Regions from separate parts of the Homo sapiens genome. Here all the other regions are linked to region 2. The links are contacts of gene promoters, found by promoter capture Hi-C in blood cells and fetal thymus (Javierre and others, 2016). All regions are on one chromosome and are shown on one strand. The core of a region is centred on a gene start or on the middle of the fragment in contact, and the rest is flanking DNA. Distances in the headings are between cores, read along the strand shown. Region 1 holds the start of PECR (peroxisomal trans-2-enoyl-CoA reductase). Region 2 overlaps SNHG31 (small nucleolar RNA host gene 31). Region 3 holds the start of SMARCAL1 (SNF2 related chromatin remodeling annealing helicase 1).

The links. Contacts are between HindIII fragments. The CHiCAGO score rates a contact against its expected background, and 5 or more counts as called.
Region 1: a contact is called between the fragment with the promoter of PECR here and a fragment that was not itself captured in region 2, in 1 of 17 cell types (monocytes). The highest score is 6.3, in monocytes.
Region 3: a contact is called between the fragment with the promoter of SMARCAL1 here and a fragment that was not itself captured in region 2, in 1 of 17 cell types (total B cells). The highest score is 5.1, in total B cells.

Annotation. Positions count from the first base shown.
Region 1 is chr2:216,079,406-216,084,008 of GRCh38, forward strand. PECR (peroxisomal trans-2-enoyl-CoA reductase) reads right to left here and starts at 2,404. Exons shown (of 8, transcript NM_018441.6): 1 at 2,213-2,404. The coding sequence starts at 2,336. It overlaps TMEM169 (transmembrane protein 169), which reads left to right and starts at 2,514. Exons shown (of 3, transcript NM_001142311.2): 1 at 2,514-2,574. RefSeq lists enhancers at 2,006-2,085, 2,116-2,165 and a silencer at 2,356-2,615. The HindIII fragment of the contact is 11,582 bases long and covers 1-4,603 here.
Region 2 is chr2:214,812,712-214,817,278 of GRCh38, forward strand. All of the region lies in intron 1 of SNHG31 (small nucleolar RNA host gene 31), which reads left to right. Among named protein-coding and RNA genes, the nearest start is that of SNHG31, 4.8 kb to the left of the region's middle. The HindIII fragment of the contact is 208 bases long and covers 2,534-2,741 here.
Region 3 is chr2:216,410,666-216,415,037 of GRCh38, forward strand. It overlaps SMARCAL1 (SNF2 related chromatin remodeling annealing helicase 1), which reads left to right and starts at 1,819. Exons shown (of 18, transcript NM_014140.4): 1 at 1,819-1,983; 2 at 3,191-3,227; 3 at 3,982-4,372. The coding sequence starts at 4,040. It overlaps SMARCAL1-AS1 (SMARCAL1 antisense RNA 1), which reads right to left and starts at 1,835. Exons shown (of 5, transcript XR_001739881.1): 1 at 1,760-1,835. RefSeq lists enhancers at 1,581-1,875, 1,619-1,708, 1,839-1,928. The HindIII fragment of the contact is 8,553 bases long and covers 1-3,903 here.

The sequences.
Region 1 (4,603 bases), core at 1,154-3,653, 1.3 Mb after region 2:
CGCCCAGGCTGGAGTGCAGCGGCACGATCTTGGCTCACTGAAACCTCTGCCTCCCGGGTTCACGCCATTCTCCTGCCTCAGCCTCCTGAGTAGCTGGGATTACAGGCACACGCCACCATGCCTGGCTAATTTTTGTATTCTTAGTAGAGACGAGGTTTCACCATGTTTTCCCAGGCTAGTCTCGAACTCTTGACCTTGTGCTCTGCCCGCCTCGGCCTCCCAAAGTGCTGGGATTACAGGCATGAGCCACCGTGCCCGGCCCTGCATGTATATATTTTATTAAAAGTAAAATTGGGCCGGGCACGGTGGCTTACGCCTGTAATCCCAGTACTTTGGGAGGCCGAGGCGGGCGGATCACCTGAGGTCGGGAGTTGGAGACCAGCCTGACCAACATATAGAAACCCCATCTCTACTAAAAATACAAAATTAGCCTAGCAAGGTAGTGCGTGCCTGTAATCCCAACTACTCGGGAGGCTGAGGCAGGAGAATCGCTTGAACCCAGGAGGCGGAGGTTGCAGTGAGCCAAGATGGCGCCACTGCACTCCAGCCTGGGCAACAAGAGCGAAACTCCATCTCAAAAAAAAAAAAAAAGTAAAATTGGAATGCTATTAGGTTTAGAATTCTACTTTTCCCAATAATATGGTATGCATTTCTCCAAGTAAGTCTTCAATAGCAAGATATTTATTTATTTATTGAGATGGAATCTCGCTCTGTTGCCCAGGCTGGAGTGCAGTGGCTTGACGTCAGCTCATTGCAACCTCTGCCTCCCAGGTTCAAGCGATTCTTGCGCCTCAACCTCCCAAGTAGCTGGGACTACAGGTGTACGCCACCATGCCTGGTTTGTATTTTTAGTAGAAATGGAGTTTCACCATGTTGGCCAGGCTGGTCTCAAACTCCTGACCTCAGGTTATCTGCCCGCCTCGGCCTCTCAAAGTGCTGGAATTACAGGCGTGAGCCACTGCGCCAGGACCAATAGCAAGATATTTAAACGGAAGCATTATATTTCATTGTTATTGATTTAACTATTTTCCTTATATTGGATTTTTAGGTAATTTCCATTTTTTCACTACTCAAGACTACATCCTTGCATGAAAATCTTTGCTTGACTCCGTTTCCTTAAATTCCTGAAAAAGGAATTACTGTCATAGAGCATAAACATTGTGAAGGTTTTTGGATCTTTTTTTCCAAATTGCCTTCCAGAAAGTTTGTAATAATTTACATTCCTGCCTTCTCATTCCTGCATCAACACTTTAATTTTTCCCAACATTTCAAAATTTTGTTAGAAAAGTTAAATCTTACTGTTTCATATTTTATTACCAATAAAGTTGATTATTTTTTCATATGTTTCTTGCCTGTCTGTAGTTCTTCTTTTGGAACGCTTAGTCCATACCATTAGTCTAATTTTTCTATCAGTGTGTTGGATTTTTTCTTTATTTGTAAGAGCTCTTTATGTATAAGGCTGTTGGCCGAATCTAGTGGCTCAGCCTGTAATCCCAAAACTTTAGGACTCAGAGGCAAGGCAGGAGGATCCCTTGAACCCAGGTGTTCGAGACCAGCGTAGGCAACAGAGTGAGACCCTATCTCAAAACCAACAAACAATTTATCTTATGTTGCAAATATTTTTCTTCATATGCCTTTAAACTTTATATATTTTTTTAATTCAATGAGGATTTACACTTTCATACAGGTAGATTGATTTATGTTCTCCTTTGTGGTTTATTCCCTCACTTATGTGTTTACAAAGGCCTTCCTTCACCCAAGTTAAGGTAAATATTCAGCATATTTCCTTGCTGTGGTTAAGAGATGTGAGAAGATACTATGAGAGACTCACTATGTTCACAACTTTTTCCAGTTAAATGAAGTCTTCCCACGTTTCCTAATCACTCACATTAAGCATATAGAATGGATTAATTTTAAATCTGAATATAAAACTAATTGCACAGCATGTTTCACTGCTCTTCTTACTGCCTACCTGGGGCACAGTCTCTTTGGCCTGAGTGGTCTCTTCAGTTTTTAACGAGTGGCTCCACAATTCCTTAGGAAGAGCTGCTCTCTTCTGTCTCCCTGGTGGTCGTAATTTCGCCCACACCTGCCCCGTCTTTGCTCTGCAGCTCCACACTCCCTCAGCCCCGCCGAGAGCTCCTGGCTCCCGTCTCCAGGTTACCCCAGGTCACCACAGCCACCTCTCTGCACCAGCGGCCCGCTCACGTACCCAGCTCCAGGAGCTCCTTCACGATGGCTTTTCCGATGCCCGTGGCCCCGCCGGTGACGATGGCCACTTGGCCCTGCAGCAAACCAGGCGCCAGGTAGCTCCTGCCCTTAGCCCAGGAGGCCATCCCTGCAGCGGGGTGCCAGAGCAGCTGAGCGCAGGCCCTTCTGGGTCTCAGGGACATTCGAGGCGGGCGGGCGGACAGGGCGGTGCTCGAGCCCACGTGACCACCAGAACCCCGCACCCTCCCCGGCCCGGCCCCGCCCCGCCCGCCGGCCGCGGCAAAGCCGCATCCTCCCGGAGCAGAACCGCTCCCCGCCGGCTGTCCGCAACCTCCGCCAGCGTCGGTCCCTGGGCAGGTGTGGGTGAGACTGCTCGTTCGTTTCTTTAAATTTCGATGCCATTGGGGAGGGTGGAAGGGAAATGCAAAAAAAAAAAAAGAAGAAGAAAGAAACAAGCAGGGTGTGCTCTATTTCAAAAATTCAATCCTCAGGGCTGAAGCTCTCACGATTAATTAAAATTAAATCTCCAGTGCAGCTGGAAAAAGAAAGGCTGCTGCTCGGCGCCCTCGCTGCGCCCGCCTGCCGGGGTCGGACGTCGGCGATGCTGTGGCTCCAGGTGCTGTGTGCCGCTGGCTGGGAAGGGGAGAAAGGGCAGGCTTAGCTGAGGGGGAGAAATGCGGCTTTCAGATCCTTTCATCCTTCGGGAGGGAGCCCGGGAAAGAGAGTGAAGGGGAAGAGGAGATGCGGTTGCAGTTTTCCACAGAACCAAGAGAATAAACGATTTGAAAAAATAAACTCAGGCCCACCTCCGTCTCACCTCCCACTCCCCACCCAAGAATCAAGGGGAAAGATCATCTTTACCAGGTTTGAGACCTGATCCATTTCAGCTGAGCTGCATAGCGAGTCCAGAAGAGGATCTTTCCTTGAAGGGTGCACGCTTCCTGCAAGATGCATCTGTAGGTGTTTGAGATCATGTCCTGTAGTTCATTCCTTGTGCAGGAGGGTGAGCCCGCTGAGGATGGGGAAAATTTCTCGTCTGTGTTATGGTGCCCAGTAACAGTGATTTATTATTCAGATCTGCTCCTTATTTTTCATCTTGCTTCCCGCTCTGAACCCACCAGAGTGAGATTACACCTGGACTGGCCTACTGAGACTTCACCCTAAGAACTTGGTCGAATGTGCCAGTTGCTGTGGTCTTAACAATCCAGATGGGATGCTATTTCTAAGGCTGTTGTCAGAGTGTTGCATTTTCCCCGGACAGGTATTAAAATAATATAAAGGCAAATAAATGCCATCATCCTTTTGTTGGACCTACCACCTAGGATTCACAAAGCCAATTGGAAATGGGTCTGGTTGACAGAGGAATCAGACCATCACTTCCTCCACCAGGTCCCACCCACCAGCGAGGCTGCAGTTCTTGTTGGACAGCTACACTTCCCTGTTGCTCCATCCTCTTGTCCTTCTCTGATCTCTTTTTAGAATCACTTCTCCCTCTATCTTTGTTGCTGACAGATTCAAATCTACACTCGTTAAAGAAAGGAATAAATCTCCTGGTTACCATTTGCTAGATAGTTTATCCAGGAATCACTTAACTCTACTACTTAAGTCAATTCTGTAGTTAGGACCAAATTTTTAAAATTACAACGCCATCACCTCCTTTAAAACAAAGTAAATTCAAACAGGAAAGCTCAAAGTGTTGTTGCAGAAACATATAACTCCTCTTGGTTTGATCCCAATGACAAGGTGTTTTTTTTTAAGGAAAAGAAATATTGATTCAGTTCTGAGGGGTATCTTATTCAAGAGAAGTCCAGACTTTCTTTCTTGTGGGTGGGGACACTTTAAATTCTTTTAAATGATAACTTTATTGAAGATATAACTTAACATGATTTATGCCCTGGTCTGGACCTATAGATTCTTAGAGGTGTGCCAGGGTGGGTCAGTGGGAAGCTGGCTGTGCTGCAGCTTCCGTGTGGCTGCTGAGCGGACTGAGAGTGGGATTCTGATGTCTTCCAGTGAAACAGGGACTGGGGCCTGCAAACCGGTTATGCCTACTGAGGATGACAAGGTGCCATTCCTCAGCTGCAAGGAAGTTGCAGGATGAACAGTCAGAAGGCGATTTTTCATGATCCAGGCAGAACCTGCAATTAAGAGAGCTTTGGGGTCTCTTCAAGCGATCTTTTGTTTAAAATTAGGAGGCATGATCTCTTTGCCTCTGCCTCTGACCTCTGTCAGGGTTTGAAAGTCCACTAATCCGCTAAGTTCCAGGCCAAAAGGCCTGGAAGCAGAGCAATAGATCTGCTGCTTGGAAGCTCTTTGTTTTGAAATTTTAGTTCTGCCTCTGGTTGAGGCATCTCTTCCGAAGGCAACCACGCCATGCTGCACTGACCACTCC
Region 2 (4,567 bases), core at 1,388-3,887:
GAGGCCAAGGCAGGTGGATCACTTGAGGTCAGGAGTTCAAGGCCAGCCTGGCTAACATGGTGAAACCCCGTCTCTACTAAAAATATAAAAATTAGCCAGGTGTGGTGGCATGCACCTGTAATCCCAGTTCCTCAGGAGGCTGAGGCAGAAAAATAGCTGGAAGCCAGGAGGTGAAGGTTGCAGTGAGGCAAGATGGTGTCGCTGCCCTCCAGCCTGGGCAACGGAGCGAGACTGTCTCAAAAAAAAAAAAAAAAAAAAAAACACAAAAGGAAAAGAAAGAAAAAGAAAAAGAACGAAAACTTAAAACGTTAAAACCTGGAGAGATACTATGGTGTTAATGGGGTAAATTGAGGATTTCAGGAGATAGATTGTCCTACTTATAATCCCACTTTCACTAAATAATTGTGTGATTTAAACCAAGCCTTAAGCTCTCTGAGCATTAGTTTCCTTGTCTGCAAAATGGGGATAATATTTATCGGGTAGATTTGGAGGACTATTAAATAAGATTAAATGTAAAATCACATACACCATAAGTACTCAGTAAATGGTAACTGATTGAGGATGATTATATATAATCAGTACTGTTAATGCTTTATTTACTAAAGAATAACACTGAACATTTTTATCAATTTTTTTTTATTAAGGGCACAGTTTTTTTTTTGCGGGGGGGCGGGGGAGACAGAGTCTTGCTCTGTCACCCAGGCTGGAGTGCAGTGGCACAATCTCAGCTCAGTGTGGCCTCTGCCTCCTGCGTTCAAGGGGTTCAAGCGATTCTCGTGCCTCACCCTGCCGAGTAGCTGGGGCTACAGGCGTGCGCCACTATACTTGGGGCACAATTTAACTGTGATCAGAGTAAATGAAAATTTCACATTTTGGTAAAATGATTTGGGACCAAACATTTATAACTGGCGTATTCATACCATGCTATTAAATGAATTATGATGCAGATACAATTAGTTCTTTCTACTGTTTGTTTGCTTTTTTCCTTTCTTCTGCCATTGTCCTGTTCCATCTCCCCAGGGGTCATGACATTCGTGGCAGCTGTTTAATAGTGGCCATAATGAAACTCATAAAGAGAATAAGCAGGGTTACTCTCCGATGTGCAACTTCCCATTCCATTTTCTTCCTTCCAGCCTTGCTTTTCTACAGCTTAGCTTGCTGGTGCTTTGCCTTTAGTGGAGATGGGATGTTTGTTTTGAACCAACTCTTCCTCTTAACCCTGGATCCTGAGTTTCAAGGGCACATTCCTTCTCCCATGGGGTACATCCAACAATGTGTAAAATCCTGGAATTCTTGTCCCAGAGAAAAAGTTCTGCAGGGAACTCCAGCCATCAGCAGGGTCTCAGTAAAGCCATGGTTTAGGACATGAACAATGTCCTCTTCTTCTCACTTTAAAAAGGGCTAAATGGTATCATTTCTTTTTCAGAGTTTTCCCTGCAAGGACCTCCTGTGTACATAAAAGTTTAGACTTGTTGCTCCATTTCACTCCTAGTCTGTTCTCTTCCTAGTAAGCAGTATTCCCAAGTATCCTAGACTCAAAATCATCCATCCCTCCCCCACTGTAACACTGTAGTCCTGGGTGGATTCTGAGGCATGCAGATAAGCTTGCTTCAGCCTTATTTACCTATCCTCCTCTCTCCAGGCCCACTTAAACCCTCATCCCCCCGACTGCTTCAGTTACCCTCTGTAGTGTTACCATGCTATGAAGGCATCTCCAGCCTTGAATTCTTTTCTGATCTTCAGGCTTATATAATGGTTTGTTGAAAACAGTCAAAATGCTGTTTTCTCTTCTGTTGTGTTATGAAGTGTTTTACAAAGAGGTAAATCTTCCTCATATTCACTTGGATAAACATATATAACAAGCAAAATGGGATATCCATAATACCCAGACTCTACTCCCAAGGAGTGTAAAGATATCTCACAAATTCTTACCTTTATATTAATTCTTCTCTGATTTTTAATTATGGTATTATGCACTGGAAAAGGCCACTTCGACTTCCTGAGAGCATTCTTTTTGTCAGATACAAATTTTGTTTGCAAGCACCCCTCTATGAAGTGTAGTCCCCCCACAAAAAAATGTAGTTTGAAACATTTGATAAGGAGCAATTGAATATGGTAATTGATGGAATAGAGCAGACCATCCCAGCATCTAGGACTGTGGTGTGTGCTGTGCACATTTGACTGAGCTTGCCTTTATATGATGCTATTAAGGTAAAGTCATATGCTTTGTGCTGTTTTTTTTTCTGAAATTCAATGTGGCGTAATGATTAAGTACACGGTGATCTGGAGTCAAGCAGAACTGAATTATAAACCTAGCCTTGACATTTCCTACAATTTTGTCCATTGTGTAACCCATCTTGGAACTTAGTTTCATCTTTTGTAAATTTAGGGTTAATATATGTCAATCTCATACTCAAAGGGTTGTGGTGAGAAAGGAATTACAGTTTATGAAACTGTCCTAAACCAGAAGTGCAGCACAACCAATGGACATCCCTTTGCAATGGACTGTCCTAAACTTTAATATATATATTAAAGCTTAAAACACAATAAGTGCACAACATATTTTTCCATTGTTAGGACTGGCATTGTTGAGTTGCATGAAGCCAGCTACACTGGCTTATGATTTCTCCTATGAAAGAGTACATATTCTAAGCAAAGAACCACTTATTCTGTGGCTATTGGAACAGAGATACTTGCAGTAGCAATTCCTATGCAAATATAATGCAATCACCTGGAAAGGAAGCTTAAATCCTATTTACTGATTATAGTCTCTTTTAGTATCATCTCAGATAAAGTATCCACCTGATTCCTAACACCATCGTTGGCATAATATTAGGACGTGACAATGAAAATGTTTATAATTTTGTTTCATTAACTTAAACATCTTTTATTTACATCATTTTGTTGCTCATTTAAGAACAAAAAAAAGCCTAAGCAATTAAAAACAGTAATTTTGTCCTACGTACTAGAGACAGCATATATGAAGCAAACAAACCACCCATGAATATCATGATTAATGTGTATTTCAATCAGTTCAATTGTGTGTATATGTATTGATCAAGTTATTGGCTGCAGTGTACTGTACTGAACCGTTTTAGCATGCCACAGTCTCTTTGACTAGTACATACCAACTCAGTCCCTATGTCATGTACACCTTGGCATTTAGTTTAGAATTACCCAAGTCTCTAGAAGCATCTAGATATTTTAAGATTGTTTTTGAAAGGATGTTAACTCCATTCTTGTGGGCACCTGCCAAATTTCTGTCACAGGCTTAAAAGTAACTAGTCTAAGGACATAGTTACATTACTATGACCCCACAGTAGTTGTTTTAAAGGTTTTGGTATCTTCTGTACTTCCTGATCATTTATCAAATTCAGTCTGACACACATATTTCACTGGTCATTGTTTTTTGTTCAATAGACTTCAGAGTTCAGCCCATTCCACTGCCTTTTATTGCTTGCTATTTTTAAGGAGACACCTCAGTAGAAATCCTCTTTTTCTGTACAGTGTAATTACTGAAGCACATAAAGTGGTTATAACAGGAATTTATCACTTTCAGGTGGAAATACTCCCAGCCAAATAAAAGATAGAGTAGGAATGCCAGAAGCAATTTATAACAGGCTCACTGACATTTTGTGTTGAGAAGCTCTACCACTGAATAAGCATCAAGTCATAAATCTCTGTAAACGTGATTAAAGCAAGCAAGTTATACTTTGAGGGGATACTATAATAAAAGGATGCTGTGATGCAAAGCAGGAAAATTCTGTTGACAAAAATCACCAAAAACAGCTGTCAGTAAAATTTACAAACAGCTTGTTTTAAATTCTGTTGGATTCTAGCAGCTGTTTGTTTGCACATAAAATGTTCATTTAGGAAATGAGCATTGGCCCTAGTTTGGGTTCCATTGTGTTTCAAAATTCTGTAATCAGTTTAATCAAAATTCATGCAATAATTTAAATTTCATTCAAAGCACAAGTGAGAAGTAACCAATATATTTAAATATGCCTCATATACAATTTGTGTTCAATAAATATGGGAATAAAAAAAAAAGAATGACTATATACCATTATCTGTAAAAGCAATGATCAATTACAACATGCATTTCAGCTTAATTTTTCTTCATCCATATATATTCTTTTAGAAATTATGCCTTGTTCATATTGGACTCATTTTACTCTTATTGTTAATAATCCTTAAGAGCCCTTCAGCAATATATTTAGAATTTAGAACGCTGACTTAAAATTTAGTTACAATTATCAGACATAGTCTATTAAATTTCGCTCATGCCTTTAGTTACTTTTCTCACTATCTCAAAATATAGCTTATATATTTTTTCATCTGTAAAGTAGGGATAACAGAAAATACTTTACTGCTATTATATGGATAAAATAAGCTAATACACTTAGAAAAGTGCTTGGAACATATTAAGTTCCTAATAAATGCTAGCATTTACCACTGTACAAAAAACTCTAGGTTCAAGAATAATAAATTGATCAGAATTTTTTTTAGGTAATAAGAGCATGTGTGTATATATATGTATGTGTGTGTATATATGTATATATAAGTG
Region 3 (4,372 bases), core at 569-3,068, 1.6 Mb after region 2:
AATCGGTGACAGACATGAGTCAAGTGCACGGCACCCAGCTTTCTTAGTAAATTAACTGACTGTTGGGAGACAGGAAGGGCAGGGACAGGTGTTCATTAACTAGTTTCTGTTCACACTATACAGTAGGAAATGAGCGCTAGGTATAGAGAAACGGACGATATAAGAGATTTACCTCAAATAATAACAACATCCCTCTCTTACCTGTTCTGGGATTTCACAGTTCACTAAGCACTTCCCCTCATAATACCTTGCTTTGATTCTAATAACAAGATTTACCAAGGTGGTATTGTTTTCTACATTTACTTTACAGATGAGAAAATGGAGGCACAATCACTGGGTATGTCAGGTCAATAAAAGGGGTAGAGCTGAGATTTGAATACTTTCTACTACTAAACCTCACACAGATCCCCTAAGACAGGCAATGTCTTTGTCATTTAAGACAAATGGGCTGGGCGCAGTGGCTCACACCTGTAATCCCAGCACTTTGGGAGGCTGAGGCAGGTGGATCACTTGAGGTCAGGAGTTTGAGACCAGCCTGGCCAACATGGTAAAACTCTGTCTCTACTAAAATTACTAAAATCAGCCAGGCATGGCGGCATGCACCCATAATCCCAGCTATTTGGGAGGCTGAGGCAGGAGAATCATTTGAACCCAGGAGTCAGAGGCTGAAGTGAGCCAAGATTACACCACCACACTCAGTCTAGGCAACAGAGTGAGACTCTGTCTCAAAAAAAAAAAAAAAAAAAAAAAAAAAAAAAAAAAGGAAGGAAGGAAGAAGGGAGATTATTTATTGTTTCAAAAGTCACACAAATTCTACATTATTATTTTAGAAAATTCAAATCATTCTGAAAAATAGAGATTAAAAAGCTGAAAAGTGTATTTCATGCCACTCTGCTCCTGAACAGTTTGGTGACTTTTTAAGTTTCCTTCCCAGACCTTTATGAGTTTACATACATGTACAGGTAAGGATGAAAAAAAAAAAAATCAAACTACACACATTGCTGTGCTTCCTTTTTCTTAGCATGTCTGGTCCATTTTTTCAAATCCTTTAGTAGACTTGTTTGTTTTTAAATGAGCCATGTTTGAAAATAGAACAATAGCAACATTCATATGCACACTGATAGAGAAATGTTATATTTATCACCAATGGTGCTCAGGATGGCTCAGGATGTTGGTGCTCAGGATGGGGTAAAGTGACTCTTTAAGTCTCATGACTAATCTTCTCTCAAGAGGAGGGGCTATGGAATCAGAATCACAAGCTAGCTTAATAAAGCCTTGAGAAATATTATCAAATAGCTGTCTTAGTTTCCCCCTCTGTAAAAGGGGGACAAGAATGTGTTCCATAGGTTGTAGTGCGGTTAAATGAGGTAACTCATATTTATGCTAAACACAATGACTGATGACTACAATGATGACGATGATGGCAGCCGGGCGCAGCGGGTGGGGCTTAAATGGCAAGTATAGCAATACCAGGAATGGATGCCCCGGGGAGATACTTTTTATTAAGAGCTGCCAAGTTAGTATGGCTGTCTGGGATGTCCTCTGGAGACAGCCGACTCCGGGTTTGGAAACCTCAACGTCCTAGGCTTTCAGGACCTAGTGTTTGGCTAAACCTCTGGAGAACTACAACTTCCAGGGTGCACCACTTTCGCCCCGCCCATGACGTTGCAGCTCCCGTTTCTCGCCAGGCTCCCGGCCCGAACTACAAATCCCAGAAGACACTGCAGCCCCGCTCGCGTTCTCGTCTCATCATTCTTACTTTTGGAAGCGAAACTGCGGCCGCGTTGCCTGCTGGGAAATGTAGTTCAGCGGTGGCCTAGCCCTTCAGGCCTGGCCGCTACAATAAGGCTGGCGAACTCGCAGCGCTTGAATACCCGTGGCCTAACCGTCCACTCGGAAGACCGGTCCCGCTCGGGAGGCTCTGCAGTCGCGCCTGGGGTCAGGGCCGGGGGCGAATGTGGCTCGCGTTCTAGGCCTCCCTGGGTGAGAAAGTGGTAGACTGGCAGGAAGGCGGCGGAGGCGGACGAGACCAATGCCAGCCTGGAGGAGGAAGTGGGCCAATGGGAAGGGTGAATCCAAGTGGAGATCGTAGGGGTGGGAGTGGGGCGTGGCGCCCGCTTACCTTGAGGCTGGGTGAGGCTCGCCCCGAAATGCGGGGCGTGGGGGGCGGGGGGCAGAGGTCCCTGCCTAGAGGGGAAGAGGGGCGTCCATGTGGCGGAATGGATTTATGGTTTGGGGCTGATCAGTGGGTCTTATGGCCGAGTCTCTCTGGTTAGTGGAGACAGCTTACCAGGCCTGGGATCTGGGGAGTTTGGAGGTGCAGGAGATCCCTGGTTGGAAACTTAGGCAGGAGTGTGTTACCCAGAGAGACTGAGGGCTTCTGCTGTGCACCTCCAAAACCTTTTCCTAACCTCTTCACCCCTTCCTAACTGCTAATGGTTGGAGAAGGTGGAAGTTCTCTGGGGATAGATACTTCGTGGTGGGGGAGGGGGGAGGGGGGTTGGGTTCTGGCCAAAGGGAGCCCCAGCAGGGAAGGAAGGCTTTGAACCCTATAGCTGCCCAGAGGCCTAAGCAATGCTACTGGAGTACCCCTACATCATCATTGTAACCGTTACACAGCATTACATTAGATGCAGCCTATTTAGTCTGAACCAAGCCAGACAAATTGGTGTGTCCTGCCCGCTGCTTCTAAAATATTGTAAACATGTCTCAGCTCATAGGAAAATAAATGTTCCGGGTAAATTCATGGAAAAAAATAATCAGGGTGCAATATGGAATGTTTACAATGATCCTACTTTATAATAAATTCTTATATCTCCTAAATATGTGCCATTTTGTTATGGATGAAAAAAAATCCGAACTATATACTCTAAATTATTAATTTCAACTGTGGTTATTGATGGCTGGTAAGATTACAGAGTAATTTTATTCTTTTTTGTTTACATCTTTATGTAGCATCTTAATTTGCACAGTGAACACATAATTTTTTTTTTTCTGCTCCTTATTTTCCCAGGAGAGTCAGTCAGTTGCTCCGTGTGTTGTGTTGGAAGTCAGGTCCTAAGGCCAGCTGCTCTGGCTTGCACTGAGCCACAGGCAGACTGATTTGCCAGGAATGATAAAAAGGGGTGAATGTGAGGGGAGAATTCAGTGTGCAGGCTATGGGAGGCTAATGCTTTTTTCCTTCTTCTAGGTTGGAAAAAGACTATGTTAGCAAGTGTCACGCCATGGTATGTGGTTGGTTGGTCTATTTCAGTCTAATCTATTATGCTTTCTGGTTAAAAATGTCACCTTTCTCATTATCTGATGGATTTACGTTGCAATGCATAACTTTCTTAGGTTCTGATAACTCACCTTGGCTGGGCCATGTGAGTTATCAGAAGAGTTACTCACCATTTTGGCAGTGCTTCGAACCATTGAGTTACCATGTGAGTTACCATGTGAGAAGGAGAGAAATATTGCCTCTGAAATGCCTTTTTAGCTTTGGATTTGCTTTTTGCTTTTTTTTTTTTCTTTGAGAGTTTTGTTCTTGTTGCCCAGGCTGGAGTGCGGTGGCACGATCTTGGCTTACTGCAACCTCTGCCTCCCAGGTTCAAGCAATTCTCCTGCCTCAGCCTCCCAAGTAGCTGGGATTACAGGCGTGCACCACCACGCCTGGCTAATTTTGTATTTTTAGTAGAGATGGGGTTTCACCATGTTGGCCAGGCTGGTCTCAAACTCCTGACCTCAAGTGATCCACCTGCCTCAGCTTCCCAAAGTGCTGGGATTACACCCGACCTGCTTTTTGCTTTTTGATCAGGGTCTTTATTTCAGCATATGCTGCCTACTATTTCAGTGTGTGTGCAATTATAAAAGAAACTTTAATACATCCTTTAGTTGTGCTCATTATGCATTTTCTGGGACAAAAGCTTGTTAAAATCATGGTTGGAGTATGACAATTAATACATGTAATGTTCATTTCATTCTTCTTACTTTCTTCCACAGCTTTTGCCAACTTTCCAATTAAAGGTTGACATTCCTGCATAAGCATTTCTCTGTGAAAATGTCCTTGCCTCTTACAGAGGAGCAGAGGAAAAAGATTGAAGAGAATCGACAAAAGGCTCTGGCCCGCAGAGCTGAGAAGTTATTGGCAGAACAGCATCAGAGGACTAGCTCGGGCACCTCCATTGCTGGCAACCCATTCCAGGCCAAGCAAGGCCCATCCCAAAATTTCCCAAGGGAGTCTTGTAAGCCAGTGAGCCATGGTGTCATTTTCAAGCAACAGAATCTCAGTAGCTCATCTAATGCTGACCAAAGACCTCATGATTCCCACAGTTTTCAGGCAAAGGGAATATGGAAAAAGCCAGAAGAAATGCCCACAGCCTGCCCAGGCCAC